Regions from separate parts of the Homo sapiens genome. Here region 2 is linked to region 1. The links are contacts of gene promoters, found by promoter capture Hi-C in human tissues and cell types (Jung and others, 2019). All regions are on one chromosome and are shown on one strand. The core of a region is centred on a gene start or on the middle of the fragment in contact, and the rest is flanking DNA. Distances in the headings are between cores, read along the strand shown.

Region 1 (6,991 bases), core at 1,418-3,917:
CAGTGACTGTGTCTTCCTGTGCCTCCGTTTCTTCTCAATAATAAGCTTCTATTAAAAGAAATAATAGGCTGAGCGCAGTGGCTCATGCCTGTAATCCCAGCATTTTGGGAGGCCGAGGCAGGCGGATCATGAGGTCAAGAAATCGAGACCATCCTGGCCAACATGGTAAAACTCTGTCTCTAATAAAAATACCAAAATTAGCTAGGGGTGGTGGCATGCACCTGTAGTCCCAGCTACTCGGGAGGCTGAGGCAGGAGAATCGCTTGAACCCGGGAGGCAGAGGTTGCAGTGAGCTGAGATCGCACCACTGCACTCCAGCCTGGCCACAGAGACTCCGTCTCAAAAAAAAAAAAAAAAAAAAAAAGAAATAAAAAGAATTATTATTTCTTTCTCAATAGGAAAATGATATTTTCTGCCAGGTTTTCTATGAATTAGCATTAAATTATCCATAGTCACCTGACCTGAAGCTTGCACAGAGGAGGCGCTCACACAAACAGCACGGGTTATTATTTGCCTCCATGAGAGGGTCCCCTTGGCATGATCCCTGCTGGACAAGTTGCTGTTAGGAACATCTTTCTTCTATTTCTGTCCCTGGGGACACTGAACTTTCTATGGAGTCTCCTAAGCCTCCCAGGCCAGTTGGCTGATGGCCTAAGAAGCTTGTCCATCTGTCCTCTCCACTCTGAGTCTCAGGTGAAGGACAAGACTCTGTCCTTGCCCAGATGAGGCTCTGGGGTCTAAGCCCTGGCTGGTGAGCAGCTCCAGGAGCCACAGCCCTTGGATGGCTGGTAAATCTTTGCTCCTAGTTGGCCCTGCCCAGGAGGCTACAACCCAGTGCTGGCACAGGTTTCCCAGGGTTACCTGGAGTCAGGATCCTGGGACAGGGGTCTGGAGCAGGGGCTTCCAGGGATGAACTTCTCTGTGAGGATCCCAGGATCCCAGGGAGCCCCTCAGGTCAGGCCCTGACCCAGTTCTTTAGAGTTTTTCTCAGGGTCAGGTCCATGGGGAGGGCACGGGGTGCCTGGCTGAGTCTGATCTCCTTCTGCTGAGTCCCCCCATCAGACTGTCATTCCTCTGCCGTGAGTGTCTGCAGGGTCTGGATGCAGGAAAGGAATTCTGGTCTGTGGAAGTCTGTCTCCCCTGAGTGTGTCCTGCACTAAATGTCCAAACCCTAAAGTGGGATGTAATGCAGAGAGGGACATGGGCACAGCCCAGGCCTAACAATCCTGTGTGTGGGAAGTAGAACTGACCCCCAACACCCAGAGGTCATGGGGAATCACTCACGATGTACGCTGAACTGGCCAGTTACTTCTTCACTCATAAGATTTAGCTTTATGACTTGTAGGGTGTAGGATCCTGTGTCATTTCTGGTGACGTTCCGCATCAGCAGGGATGCATTGGGGTATATTGTCTCTCGATTGCTGTATGCAGGCCCTGGGGTAATCTGTTGATTTGATATTACATATCCTATAATTCGACGGTTGGCATCCACTGTTTCCCCTTTGTACCAGTTGTAGCCACGAGGGTCCTGGGGCAGATTGTGGACAAGTAGAAGAACCTCCTTCCCCTCTGCAGCATTGGATGGCACAGCTTCAATAGTGAGCTGAGCAGTGGTGGGCGGGTTCCAGAAGGTGAAAAGTGAGGCTAGGAGGGGGAGAGAGCATCAAGCAATATTGCAACATATGTATTGGAGTAGAAAAATGGGGACATCAGCTTTGGAGTTTGTGTGTTTTTATGTGTGTGTATGTGTGTGTGTCCTACTGAGTCAATGTCAGCAGCACAGCCCCCATTTCTTCAACACCTCTGACCTTGGCATTTCCCTGGTGGAATCCTCTTCTTCAGGGTTCTGCACGGCTCCCTCCACACTGCCCTCAGATCCTGCTCACATCAGGGCATCCTTGGGAGACCCTTTCTCTGACACCTCCTCTAGAGACACTGGGTCTTCCCTTTCTGACCTTTCCCTGCTGTGTTCCTTCCAGGGCTCCTGTCAGCGCCTGACCTCACATTCTAGATCTCTTTGTCTGTCTTCCTCCCCAGGAGAGTGTGAGCTCTGTGAGGGCAGGGACTTGTGTGGTGTTGGCTGCACCCCAGTGCCTGGGACAGGCTTCAGACTCCTGTGGATGAGTTCCTGAGCATTCCCTGGGCCCTCTGCTTCCTGAGGCTTATTTGCCAATGTCTGACATTGTTGGCTGAGGACAATGTTTCATACCCTGGTTATGCTTTATTTGAAGTGTCATCTGGTATGGTTATTATTATCATTTTTCAAAATGTAGTGGCCAGTGATGATTAACCAGGAATATGGAACACTTGAGATGTTCCTGCCTCTTACCAATTCCAGTTCAATGTGATTTTCCTGTTGTGACCCCTTCCCCTCTCTTGTGTCCTCTCCTCTATTAAGGCTCCAACAGAAGTCCTCTGTCCCCTCTCAGAGCCCCGTCCTCCCCAGGAGACCCCAGCCAGTCACTGTGTTTCCTCCTCCTGTCCTTTCCCAGGAAGTCCTCTCCTCACCTGTGAGCAGGAGCCCCTGCCAGGGGATGCGCCATCTGCAGGAAGGGGCTGAGATGGGCCCCATGGTCTCTGCTGCCTGCGTGTTCTCCTCTGTGGAGATGAGCCTGGGATCCAGAAACTTTCTGAGCACGGCTGTCAGCTGTGCTGTCCTTCCTCCTTTTGTGCTGAGCCTCTTCCCGGGGCAGGAGCACTTCTCAGGCTCATGGGCGGGGTCTGTGCCCAGGACACCTCTCTGTCCCCTCCCCTCTCAGTCCTGCCTCCCTGTCCCTCCTTTCCCTTTATTTTCTGTCTGTGTTTCAGGCCCCTGGGAATTGCTGAGGTCTCTGACTCCTTCAGCAGTGATTCTCTCACCCAACCTCTGCACACACTATGCAGACACACACACACAGAGACACACACATACACAAAGAGACACACACAGTCACACATACACCCTGGAGACTGGGTGAGCACAGCCCTGTGCCCTCAGCATCCTGCAGCCTATGTCTCCAGGTCGGGGTGCACAGTCGCTCCCCCTGCCCTCTCCCATCCCCATCTGGCTCTTCCCTTCAGATCAGGAGGTCAGCGCTCCGCAAGGACCCTGTCACAGGGACACCACCACTGAGCTTTGGGGAGGTGTGTGCTCACTGGTGAGAGGGATCCTCCCCCTCTCTCATTGTGTCAAGCTTGGTTGCAGCTTCCAAGGATGGACATTCAATGCCCTGGATATCCCAGAGGGGACTGTCCTTACTGGTGGTGTGCAGGGCAAATAATCTCTTATGCCTCCTGAGAGAGAGGGCTGTTCTGGTTGGTCAGTGGGGGCTGTGGGCCTAGTGGTCATCAGGGACAGGTATCAGCCATTCTCTTGCTCTTTGGGTTCTGGCAGCTGAGCTGGGGCTCGGGCCTTCCATGTTCTCTCTGACCATCTTGGGTGTCCTCTGTTTTCGCCCGGCTGACTGTCCTGTGGTCACCCCACCTTCCCTATGGTTGGTGCAGCAGGAAGTGGGGAGTTGCCCAGGGGCCCCACAAGACAGTGCTCTCTGAGATCCAGGAGAGGGAGCCTGGGACAGAGCAGGGGCTCAGAGCTGGAGAGACTCATCCCAACTTACTCTGCAGCCAGGATGGGCTCAGCCCTCCCCATGCTGATATCCCCTGGGGTCTGTCCTAAGGGTTTGGACCTGGTCAGGCCCCTCTGTGTAGAGAAAGGATGGGCAGCGGCCGGGGAGCCCGTCTGGGGGGACGTTGCTCACACCTGAGAGGGCAGGTAGGGGTGGGCCATGTTCTGGGAACAAAGGGAGCTCATTCCTTGCCCCCCAGCTTGTGTACATGAGAGAGCGCTGTCCTCCCTCCTGGCTTCACGAAGGACAGCAGGGGGCAGGTGGCTACATCCCAGACAGTGCCTGGGCGTGACCATCACATACTCTCCGAGCCTCCTGGGGTGCAGAGGGAAGGTCATAGGGTGCCTGGCTGATTCCCCAGAGGCACTGTGGGCCCTCAGGCAGCTGTGGTTCTGTCAGCGCTGGGCTCAGCCTGCCATGCCGTAGAGAACAGGACACACGGAGCAGGGGCGGGTATTTAGGGAGCAGTCACAGAAAGAGTTGATGAGGATGGAGGGAGGTCACGAGGGGAAAGCGCCCAGTGTGGCATCCCGTGCACCAGCGCTGCCCTGGGAGATGCCTTAACTAGGCCCAGGGAAGGATTGGGTGTGTGGGGCAGGAGCTGCCTGCAGAGGGGGCGGCCTCATGTTGCCGGCTGCCTGGCTGCAGGGAGGAGCTGACAGAGTCCGTATGGGGAGCTTGGAGGGTAAGGAGGACGTGGGCCGAGGTGCCCTGGTGAGGGTGGACCCTGCTGGGCTGTGGGTTCCGCTGAGGGAGGTCAGCAGCCCCTGGGAAGGCTCCAGGCTGGAGGGACTCTGTCGCCCTCTGGTGGACTGGAAGGGAAGTGTGGGTGGCCGCAGTCCCAGGTCCGGCTGCGTGTTTTATTCCACATGGATCTGCACATTTCACACGAGGTCACCCACATGTTATGTCGAGCTCCATCACATTCCACATCCGTGTTTTTCTCTGTGGCTGATTCTCTGGTGTGATCTCTGAGCCTGTGTTAGTCCTCCTCACAATGGTCACAGCTGTGTGTGGAGATCTAATGGGGTGTGTGTGGCTCATGTGCTCACACAGAGTGTCCTGGGGTCAGGCTTTATGACCTACCCTGCCCCAACTCCACAACAAGATCTGAATAATGCGCCAAGTAAGATAAAGTCAGAATCCATGGGGGAGGGTGAGAGTCCTGGCAGTGCTGAGGTCTGTGTCTCCAGCTTAACTCTCAGTCTCTTTGCAAATACATTTATGTTGTGCATCTGCAGTTGGCTGGGCAGTTTCATGTCTCTGAATCCTTGAATCTCTCTGTGGATAAGGTCATGTAGGGACTGCATGTAAGTGTATGAGGGCTATCTGATTAGGGTGGGTATGTTTTACGTAGTAGGTTTTCTTCACCAAAGACTTTTCAAAAAATTGTGGTAGAGTGTATATATGTACATTCATATATCACCTCCACTTCCTGAGTTCAAGCGATTCTCCTGCCTCAGCCTCCCAAGTAGCTGGGACTACAAGCGTGCACCACCATGCCGGGCTAATTTTTGTATTTTTAGTAGAGGTGGGGTTTCACCATGCTGGCCAGGCTGGTCTCAAACTCCTGAACTTGTGATCTACCTGCCTCAGCCTCCCAAAGTGCTGGGATTACAGGCATGAGCCACTGCACCCGGCCTGTATATCTTCTTTGAAGAAATGTCTATTTGAGTTTTTGCCCATTTATAAACGGGGTGGTTTGTCTTTTTGTTATTGAGTTGTAGCAGTTCTTTATATATTCTGGACAGGAAGCTCTTCTATATGTAATTTGCAAATTTTTTCTCCCATTCTGTGCCTGGTCTTTTCACTTTCTTCATAATGTCCTTTGATGCACAAAAGGCTTGCATCTTCATAAGGCTTAATTTATCTCTTTTTCCTTGTTGTTGCTCATGCTTTTGTGTCATATCTAACAATCCATTACCACATTCGAAGTCATCAAGATCTACCCCTCTTTTTCTTTTTTTAAAAAATATATATTTTATTTACATAGGTTTTTTGGGGAACCGATTGGTATTTGGTTACATGAGTAAGTTCTTTAGTGGTGATTTTTGAGATTTTGGTGCACCCATCACCCAAGCAGTATACACTGAACCCAATTTGTAGTATTTTTTCCCTCACTCCCTTCCCACCCTTTTTACCTGAGTCCCCAAAATCCATTTTGTAATTCTTATGCCTTTACATCCTCATCACTTAGCTCCCACTTATGAATGAGAACATACGATGTTTGGTTTTCCATTCCTGAGTCACTTCACTTAGAATAATAGTCTTCAATCCCATCCAGGTTGCTGAGGATGCCATTAATTCATTCCTTTTTATGGCTGAGTAGTATTCCATCATACACACACACACACACACACACACACACACACACACACACACATATATATACATACCAAGTTTCTTTATCCACTCATTGATTGATGGACATTTTTGTTGGTTCCACATTTTTGCAATTGCAAATTGTGCTGCTATAAACATGCATGTGCAAGTATCTTTTTGTATAATGACTTCTTTTCTTCTGGGTAGATACCAAAAGTGGGATTGCTGGATCAAATGGTAGTTCTACTTTTAGTTCTTTAAGGAATCTCCACACTGGTTTCCATAATGGTTGCACTAGTTTACATTCCCACCAGCAGTGTAGAAGTGTTCCCTTTTCACAACATTCATACCAACATCTATTATTTTTTATTATGGCCATCGTTGCAGGAGAAAGGTGGTATTGCATTGTGGTTTTGATTTGCATTCCCTGATTATTAGTGATGTTGAGTATTTTTATATGTTTATTGGCCATTTATATATCTTTCTTCAAGAATTGTCTATGCATGTCCTTTGCCCACTTTTTGATGGGATTGTTTGTTTGTTTTTTCCTTGCTAATTTGATTGAGTTCATTATAGATTCTAGATATTAGTCCTTTGTCAGATGTATAGATTGTGAAGATTTTCTCCCACTCTGTGGGGTGTCTGTTTACTCTGCTGACTGTTCCTTTTGTCGTGCAAATGCTCTTTAGTTTAATTAAGTCCCAGCTATTTATCTTTGTTTTTATTGCATTTGCTTTTGGGTTGTCATGAACTCTTTCCTAAGCCAATGTCTAGAAGGGTTTTTCTGATGTTATCTTCTATAATTTTTATAGTTTCAGGTCTTAGATTTAAGTCCTTATCAATCTTGAGTTGATTTTTGTATAAGGTGAGAGATGAGGATCCACTTTCATTCTTCTACATGTGGCTTGTCAATTATTCCAGCACCATTTGTTGAATAGGGTGTCATTTTTCCACACTATGTTTTTGTTTGCTTTGTCAAAGATCAGTTGACTGTAAGTATTTGGGTTTGTTTCTGGGTTCTCTGTTCTGTTCTATTGTTTCATCTGCCTATTTTTATACTAGTA
Region 2 (7,606 bases), core at 2,219-4,718, 38 kb after region 1:
CAGGGACTGCCTTTGTAAAACTAATGAAAGACCATGAGATTAAGATTATTGGAGGGTCCCAAATTTTGCTAAAATGTAGGCATAGTTTCTGCAATTCCTTACTGCTCAGGACTCATGTGTACAGAGGTCACAAGATTTATGACTTCCTTAATTGCTTCTATAGATAACATCACTATTGTAGAACCTGAGATTGGTCTTTTAAGATGTTCCTCAGACTTTTGCATTTTGGCAACCAGCATAACTCATCCAGACCCATGATTAATGATTCATCCATTCATGTGGCTTCCATCCAGAGGCAGATTTAACACAAACAGATCATTTTCCCCACCTGCATGATTTCATCCCCAACCAGTCAGCAGTACTCATTCCTTAGACCTCTGCAGCTGAAACTATCCTTGAAAACCTCTAATTTCTGAGCCACTAGAGAGGCTAATTTGTACAATAATAAACTTCTGTCCTCCTGTTTGACAGTCTTTGCCTAACTAAAATCTTTTGTAACTGCAAGTCACCATCTCAGTAAATTGGTTTTGTCTGTGCAGGGTGCAAGAGGAACCCATCAGGTGATTATAAGAGTGGACTGAGGAGTTGCTCATTTCTTTCCAGTGGCTTGTTTCATGTTTTGGCTCACGGAGGAAGAGAACCCTGGATGGGGACACAGTGGAAGCTTGTTCTCCTGGTGATCTGGGGATATTGGCTCATGATGGAGCCTGGCAGGGGTGACTGCTCTGGCTGATTTCTGTGCCTTTCCTATTGTCCAGGAGGTGGGCCAGGCTACAGTGTGAATAGGAAGGGAACAGAACAGTCAGCCTTGTTAGAGGGAGTGTCTGGGGAAGGCCTACGTGTGGGGGAAGCTGTGCAGGGTGCAGTATCGTAGCTGGAATGAAGGGGGAGGAAAATGAGGGACATGGAGGAGCAGAGACACCCATGGCAGTGAGCAGTGGGGGCTACAGTGACCTAAAAGACCTCAAGGTCCAGGGGCCCCCACTTCCTTAGTCCAGGACCAGGGAGCCCTGGAAACCCTTCTATGCCCAGGGAGCCTCAGTGTCACATGAGATGGGGTGGCTTTAGGAGTAGGGGTTCATAGGGATAGAACATGGGTCTCAGGCCCTGAAGGACAGAAAACCAGTGTGGACAGAAACTCCTAGGATTCTGTATCCAGAATCAGGTATCTAAAGAGGTTATAGATTATTCATTCCTTCATTCATTCCCTCCCTCCTTCACGAGAAAGCTTCTGAGTGTGTATGTTACATTGGGCCTGTGCTGCTGCAGGGTGCCAGTGGGGAGAGAAAGCTATGACCTCTCTTTTATCCTCCCATGGGAGTGACACCAACACATTGGGATACAAGATTTCAGGTCCAGTGAGGGGCATTAGGATCTGAGGGGGAGGACTGGATATTCCTTGCACTGACTTTGATCATTGAGGCAGGCAATTTAGTTCTGGAGTAAAAACTTATCAGTTGTCCATTTGCTCTCACTCCTCTGAGGTCTAGATAAGCATGAAGAAAGGATTTGAGCCAATGGATGACTGTGGGGTCCCCAGGACCCCCAAATCCCCACTTCTGGTGGAGGAGAGGATGGGGCTGTGGCTGCAGCCAGACCTCTAGTGACTCTGATCTGCCACTTGTGTTTGTGTGACCCTGGTTCAGTGACTATGCCTCCCTGTGTCTCAGTTTTCTCCCAGTCAGATAAGCTAAATGGCAAATGGTCTGTGGCTTGTCATGTTGTCTGTGAATGAAGTTTAAATTATTCACAGTCACCTGACCTAATGCTTGGCACAGAGGACGTGTTCACACAAACAATGTTTATTATTATTTGCCTGCATGAAAGAGCATATCTAGGCCTGATCCATGATGAACAAGATGCTACCAGGAACATCTTCTCTCTTCTGTTTCTGCCCCTGAAGACATTGAATTATCTACGGAGTCTCTTAAGTCTCCCAGGGCAGTTGGCTGATGGCCTAAGAAGCTTGTCCATCTGTCCTCTGCACTCTGAGTCTCAGGTGAAGGACTAGGCTCTGTCCATGCCCAGATGAGGCTCTGGGTGCTGAGCCCTGGCTGTTAAACAGCTCCAGGAACCATGGCCCTTGTACAGCTGGTAAACCTTTGCTCCCAGTCAGCCCTGCCCAGGAGGCCACAACCTAACCCTGGCACACATTCCCGAGGGTCACATGAAGTCAGGATTCTGGGACCGGGTTCTGGGGCTGAGGCTTCCAGGGTTGAACTTCTCTAAGAGAATCCCCGAGGGCCCCCCAGGCCAGGCCCTGACCCAGTTCTCCAAGGAATTTCTCAGGGTCATGTCCATGGGGAAGGCACGGAGTGCTTGGCTGAGACTGTTCTCCACCTGCTGTGTCCCTCCCATCAGACTGTCCTTCCTCTGCAGTGAATGTCTGCAGGGTCTGGATTTGGGGAAACAATTTTGATCTGCAGATGTTTGTCTCCCCTGTGTGTGTCCTGCACTAAATGCTCAAACCCTAAAATGGGACATAATGCAGAGGGCTACACAGGCACAGTCCAGGTCTAACAGTCCTGTGTGTTTGAAGTAGAACTGACCCCCGACACCCAGAAGTCATGAGGAATCACTCACGGTGTACGCTGATCTGTGCAGTTACTTTTTCAGTCATAAGATCTGCCTTTAAAATTTGCACGGTGTAGGATCCTGAGTCATTCAGGGCGATGTTCCAGATCTCCAGGCGTGCTTTGGGGTATACTGTCTCTTGGCCACTGTATGCAGGCCCTGGGATAGTTACTTCATTGTGTATTACATATCTTGCAATTCAGTCGTCGGCATCTATTGTTTCCCCTTTGTACCAGTTGTGGCCAAGTATATCCTGGGGCAGATTGTAGACAAGTAGAACAACCTCCTTCTCCTCTACCGCATTAGATGGCAGAACTTCAACTGTAACTTGGGCAGTGGTGGGTGGGTTCCAGAAGGTGAAAAGTGAGGCTAGGAGAGAGAGAGAGAGCATCAGTCAACATTGGGACCTATGTATTGGGGGGGAAAGATGGGGCCCTGTGTCCTGAGAAGGTCTCTTCACCCCTCAGCCTTTGAGTATGTATGTGTGTGTGTGTCCTACTGAGTCAAGGTTAGCAGCATGATCCCCATTCCTTCAACATCTCTGACCTTGGCATTTTCCTGTTTGGAATCCTCTTCCCCAGGGGTCTGCTCGGCCCCCTCCCCACTGCCCTCAGGTCCTGCTCACATCAGGCATCCTTGGGAGACTCTTCCCCTGACACCTCCTCTAGAGACCCTGGGTCTTCCCTTGCTGACCTTTCCCTGTTCTGTTTACTCCACAACTCCTGTCAACACCTGACCTCACATTCTAGATCTCTTTGCATGTCTGTCTTCCTTCCCATGAAAGCATGAGCTCTGTGAGAGCAGGGTCTTGTGTGATCTTGGTTGCACCTCAGTTCCTGGGACAGGCTGCAGACTCCTGTGGATGAGCTCATGAGCGTTCCCAAGGTCTTCCATGTCCTGGACCAATTTCTGAGGTTGGAGGCTGAGGATAATGTTTCATGCCCTGGTTATGTTTTTATTTGAAGTGTCATCTGATATAGTTATTATTATCATTTTTCAAAATTTAGTGGCCAGTGATGATTAACCAGGAAAACAGAATACTTAAGATTTTCCTACCTCTTACCAGTTCCAGTTTTATATGATTTTCCTGTTGTGACCCCTGTTCCTCTCTGGTGTCCTCTCCCGTATCCAGGCTCCAACAGAAGCCCTCAGTCCCCGCTCAGAGCTCTGTCCTCCCCAGGAGACCCCAGCCAGTCACTCTGCTTCCTCCTTGTGTTCACTCCCAGAAAGTTCTCTCTTCACCTGTGAGCAGGAGCCCCTGTCAGGGGATGCGCTGTGTGCAGGGAGGGGCTGAGAGGGGCCTCATGGCTTGTGCTGCCTGTGTGTTCTCTTCTGTGGAGGTGAGCCTGGGATCCGGAAACTTTCTGAGCATGGTTGTCAGCTGTGCTGTGCTTCCTCCTTCTGCGCTGAGCCTCTTCCCAGGGCAGGAGCGCCTCTCAGGCTCATGGTTGGGGTCTGTGCCCAGGACACCTCTCTGTCCCCTCCCCTCTCAGTCCTGCCTCCCTGTCTCTTTTCTACCTTTCTCTTCTGTCTGTGTTTCAGGCCCCTGGGAATTGCTGAGGCCTCTGCCTCCTTCAGCAGTGATTCTCTCACCCAACCTCTACACATGCTATGTGCAGACACACAGACACACACACAAAGAGACACACAGATACACATAGTCACACAGAAACCCTGTAGTTTGGGTGAGCCCAGTTCTGGGTCCTCAGCATCCAGCCATGTTTATGGCTCCAGGTCAGCCTGCACAGTTACCCCTTCTGCCCTCTTCCATCCCCACCTGGCTCTTCCGTTCAGAGCAGGAGGCTTGGACTGCACCAGGGCCCTGTCACAGGGATCTACCCTCACTGTGCTTTGGGTGAGCTGAGTGCTGGCTGGTGAGAGGGACCCTTTTTCTCATTGTGTCAATATTGGCTACAGTTTCCAAGGATGGACATTCAATGACCCGGGTGTCCCAGAAGAGACTGTCCTTCCTGGAGGTGTGCAGGATGAATCTCTCATGCCTTCTGGGAAGAGAGGCCTCTGCTGGTTGGTCAGTGGGGGCTGTGGTCCCAGGAACTGGTCTCAGCCACTCTCTTGCACCCTGGGTTCTGGTTGCTGAGCTGGGGCTGAGGCCCATTCATGTTTTCTCTGACTATCTTTGGTGTCCCGTCATCTGCCCAGCTGACTGTCCTGTGGTCACTCCACCTTCCCCAAGGCTGATGCAGCAGGGAGTAGGGGGCTGCCCAGGGACTTCACAGGACATGGCTCTCTGAGACCCAGGACAGAGAACCTGGGACAGAGCAGGGGCTCAGAGCTGAAGACATTCAATCTGACTTACTCTGTGGCCAGGATGGGCTCAGCCCTCCCTGTGCTGACATTCCCTGGGGTCTGTCCTGAGGGTTTTGACCTTGTCAAGGCCCTCAGTGTAGAGGAAGAACAGGCAGTGGCAGCAGACCCCATGTGGGGGTCACTGCTCACACCTGAGAGGGCAGATGGGGTGGAATTTTGGGATGGATTCATATTTAAGGAATGATCCAACAGTAGACAATTTTGAAAATGTACAGAAATTCCTATGCTATAAGTTTATTCTGCATAAGGTATTTTTTCTTAATAAGATAATTGACTTTTCATTCATAGATAGCTAATATGGCCTAAAATGGTGAGAACATCAGAGTGGACTGTTTGGTGTCTTGTGGTGTGGTTTCATGCTTTATTTCTCCCACCCCATATCTACAGAATTCTCCATATTCCGTTTTGTAATGTAACTCAGTGGGTGTCATTCTGGTTTGTGGTTACAGACCATTGGAAAACCCGTACCCTCTCTGCTGCGAGGTACAGGCAGCAATGTGGCATCAGCTCTAAACATGCTTTCTCCCGTGACATCAAATTGCTGATTAAGTAAAAGTCATTTCAACAGATACTGAAGATGTCAGTTGTACCCCTCACATACTCACAATTCTTTCACCAAGAGATGAAGGATTTTACTGGTGAGTTGCTTTGAGAGGTTAGTGTAGATCTGATTCTGTCAGGGCCACTTTTGCCCTCTGAGTGGGCATTTGGCAAAGTCTGGAGAAATTGTTGGTTGACAGAACTGGGGGAGGGAGTCCTGTGGCATTGAGTGGGTAGAGTTCCCAGAGGGTGCTGAACACCCTGCTGCTCACAGAGCCCCATTAGCATGACCACCCCTGTGTCAATGCTGAGGAGTGCAGAACCCTGCTGTGCCCTTCTTTAGCTTCCCTGGGTCTTCCCCAGACCTGATCCTTTCATCTTTCTGGACTGCTTTCCCATCTCAGCTCCCTCCTTGCACCTTAGTTCCCTCCATCTGAACTCACACTTAGTCCAAGGCCAGCCCTGATCTCTCAACTCTCTTGGCCCCTTTTTGCTCCTTAGCAGGAGGGAACCACTAGAGGGCACCCTCACCATTCCTGGAGCTCATGCCCTCCCTTTCAATTTTGAGACAAATATGGCTGCTTTTACTGTCACAACTCCAGCCCTCCGCATTCTTTAGCTTTACTCAGGCAGCAGCACCTGGACAGGCATCATGGACCCCAGGGAGGACTGTCACTCTGGAGATTTTGGTGGCATGGACTGGAGACCTGAAGCCACCCCAAGGCCCAAGTCACTGGGGAGAGGCTGGGTCCAGGTGAGGGAGCTTCACACTTGGTCCAGATGCCCCTGCCTAGTGTGGGCACTGGGGACATGTCCATTTGTCTGTGTCCCTAAAGGTCCTGTCACTCAGGATCTGTGCCTGAGGGCTTTGACAGAGCTGCTGTGGAGCTTTCCACATGGGGCCTTTCCCAGTGGAGCACGAGTCCTCCCAGGGATTTCAAGGAGGGCCGTTGCCTGGAAGAATCAGAAGGAATGTGGCAGCCACCAGGTGCAGGCTCCTCTCAGGGCCTGAAAAAAGGGACCTCTTTTCATCATTTGCCACTCATGTCTGCACTGTCTGCATCAGGATGGAATGATGTGGAATTTCATGCAAGGTCATTTTGCTTCTGTTCTGCTAATAATTTTTTTTCTAGTTAATCTTTTGAAGTAAAGGCAATTGTTGACTTTTGGGTGTTAAACTCACCTTTCATTTTTGGGGAACAAACTCAATGTGGTAAATCCTGACTTTTTTGGGGTCATATTTCATTTGTGGATTTTCCCTCTCTGTTCCCAAGTAGGGCATGCAGTTTTACTTTTTCATTGCATGATATTCACCTCCCTGTGTCCATGTGTTCTCATTGTTCAACTCCCACTTATGAGTGAGAACATGCGGTGATTCGTTTTCTGTTCCTGTGTTAGTTTGCTGAGAATGATGGTTTCCAGCTTCATCCATGTCTCTTCAAAGGACATGAACTCATCTTTTTTTATGGATGCGTAGTATTTCATGGTGTATATGTGCCACATTTTCTTTATCCAGTCTATCATTGATGGGCATTTGGGCATTTGGGTTGGTTTCAAGTCTTTGCTATTGAGAGTAGTGCAGCAATAAACATATGTGTGCATGTGTCTTTATAGTAGAATGATTTATAATCCTTTGGGTATATACCCAGTAATGGGACTGCTGGGTCAAATGGTATTTCTGGTTCTAGATCCTTGAGGAATCGCCACACCATCTTCCACAATGGTTGAGCTAATTTACACTCCCACCAACAGTGTAAAAGCATTCCTATTTCTCCACATCCTCTCCAGCATCTCTTGTTTCCTGACTTTTTAATGATTACCATTCTAACTGGTGTGAAATGGTATCTCATTGTGGTTTTGATTTACATTCCTTTAATGACCAGTGATGATGGGATTTTTTTCATATGTTTGCTGGCTGCATAAATGTCTTCTTTTTAGAAGTGTCTGTTCGTATCCTTTGCCCACTTTTTGATGGGGTTGTTTGATTTTTTTCTTGTAATTTGTTTAAGTTCTGTGTAGATTCTGGATATTAGCCCTTTGTCAGATGGATAGATTGCAAAACTTTTCTCCTATTCTGTAGGTTGCCTCTTCACTCTGATGATAGTTTCTTTTGCTGTGCAGAAGCTCTTTAGTTTAATTAGATCCAATTGGTCAATTTTGGCTT

What was found. The method cuts DNA at HindIII sites, captures the fragments that hold promoters and counts their contacts. A contact is called where the count stands out against the background at its distance.
Region 2: a contact is called between a fragment that was not itself captured here and the fragment with the promoter of CEACAM8 in region 1, in 2 of the 25 tissues and cell types used here (heart left ventricle and stomach).

The regions. Positions count from the first base shown.
Region 1 is chr19:42,592,257-42,599,247 of GRCh38, forward strand. CEACAM8 (CEA cell adhesion molecule 8) reads right to left here and starts at 2,668. Exons shown (of 6, transcript NM_001816.4): 1 at 2,509-2,668; 2 at 1,285-1,644. The coding sequence starts at 2,572. The region is part of intron 2 of LIPE-AS1 (LIPE antisense RNA 1); the gene reads left to right. RefSeq lists an enhancer at 4,001-4,501. The HindIII fragment of the contact is 5,245 bases long and covers 257-5,501 here.
Region 2 is chr19:42,629,155-42,636,760 of GRCh38, forward strand. All of the region lies in intron 2 of LIPE-AS1 (LIPE antisense RNA 1), which reads left to right. It also overlaps the pseudogene CEACAMP1. Among named protein-coding and RNA genes, the nearest start is that of CEACAM8, 38 kb to the left of the region's middle. RefSeq lists an enhancer at 1-81. The HindIII fragment of the contact is 7,533 bases long and covers 1-7,235 here.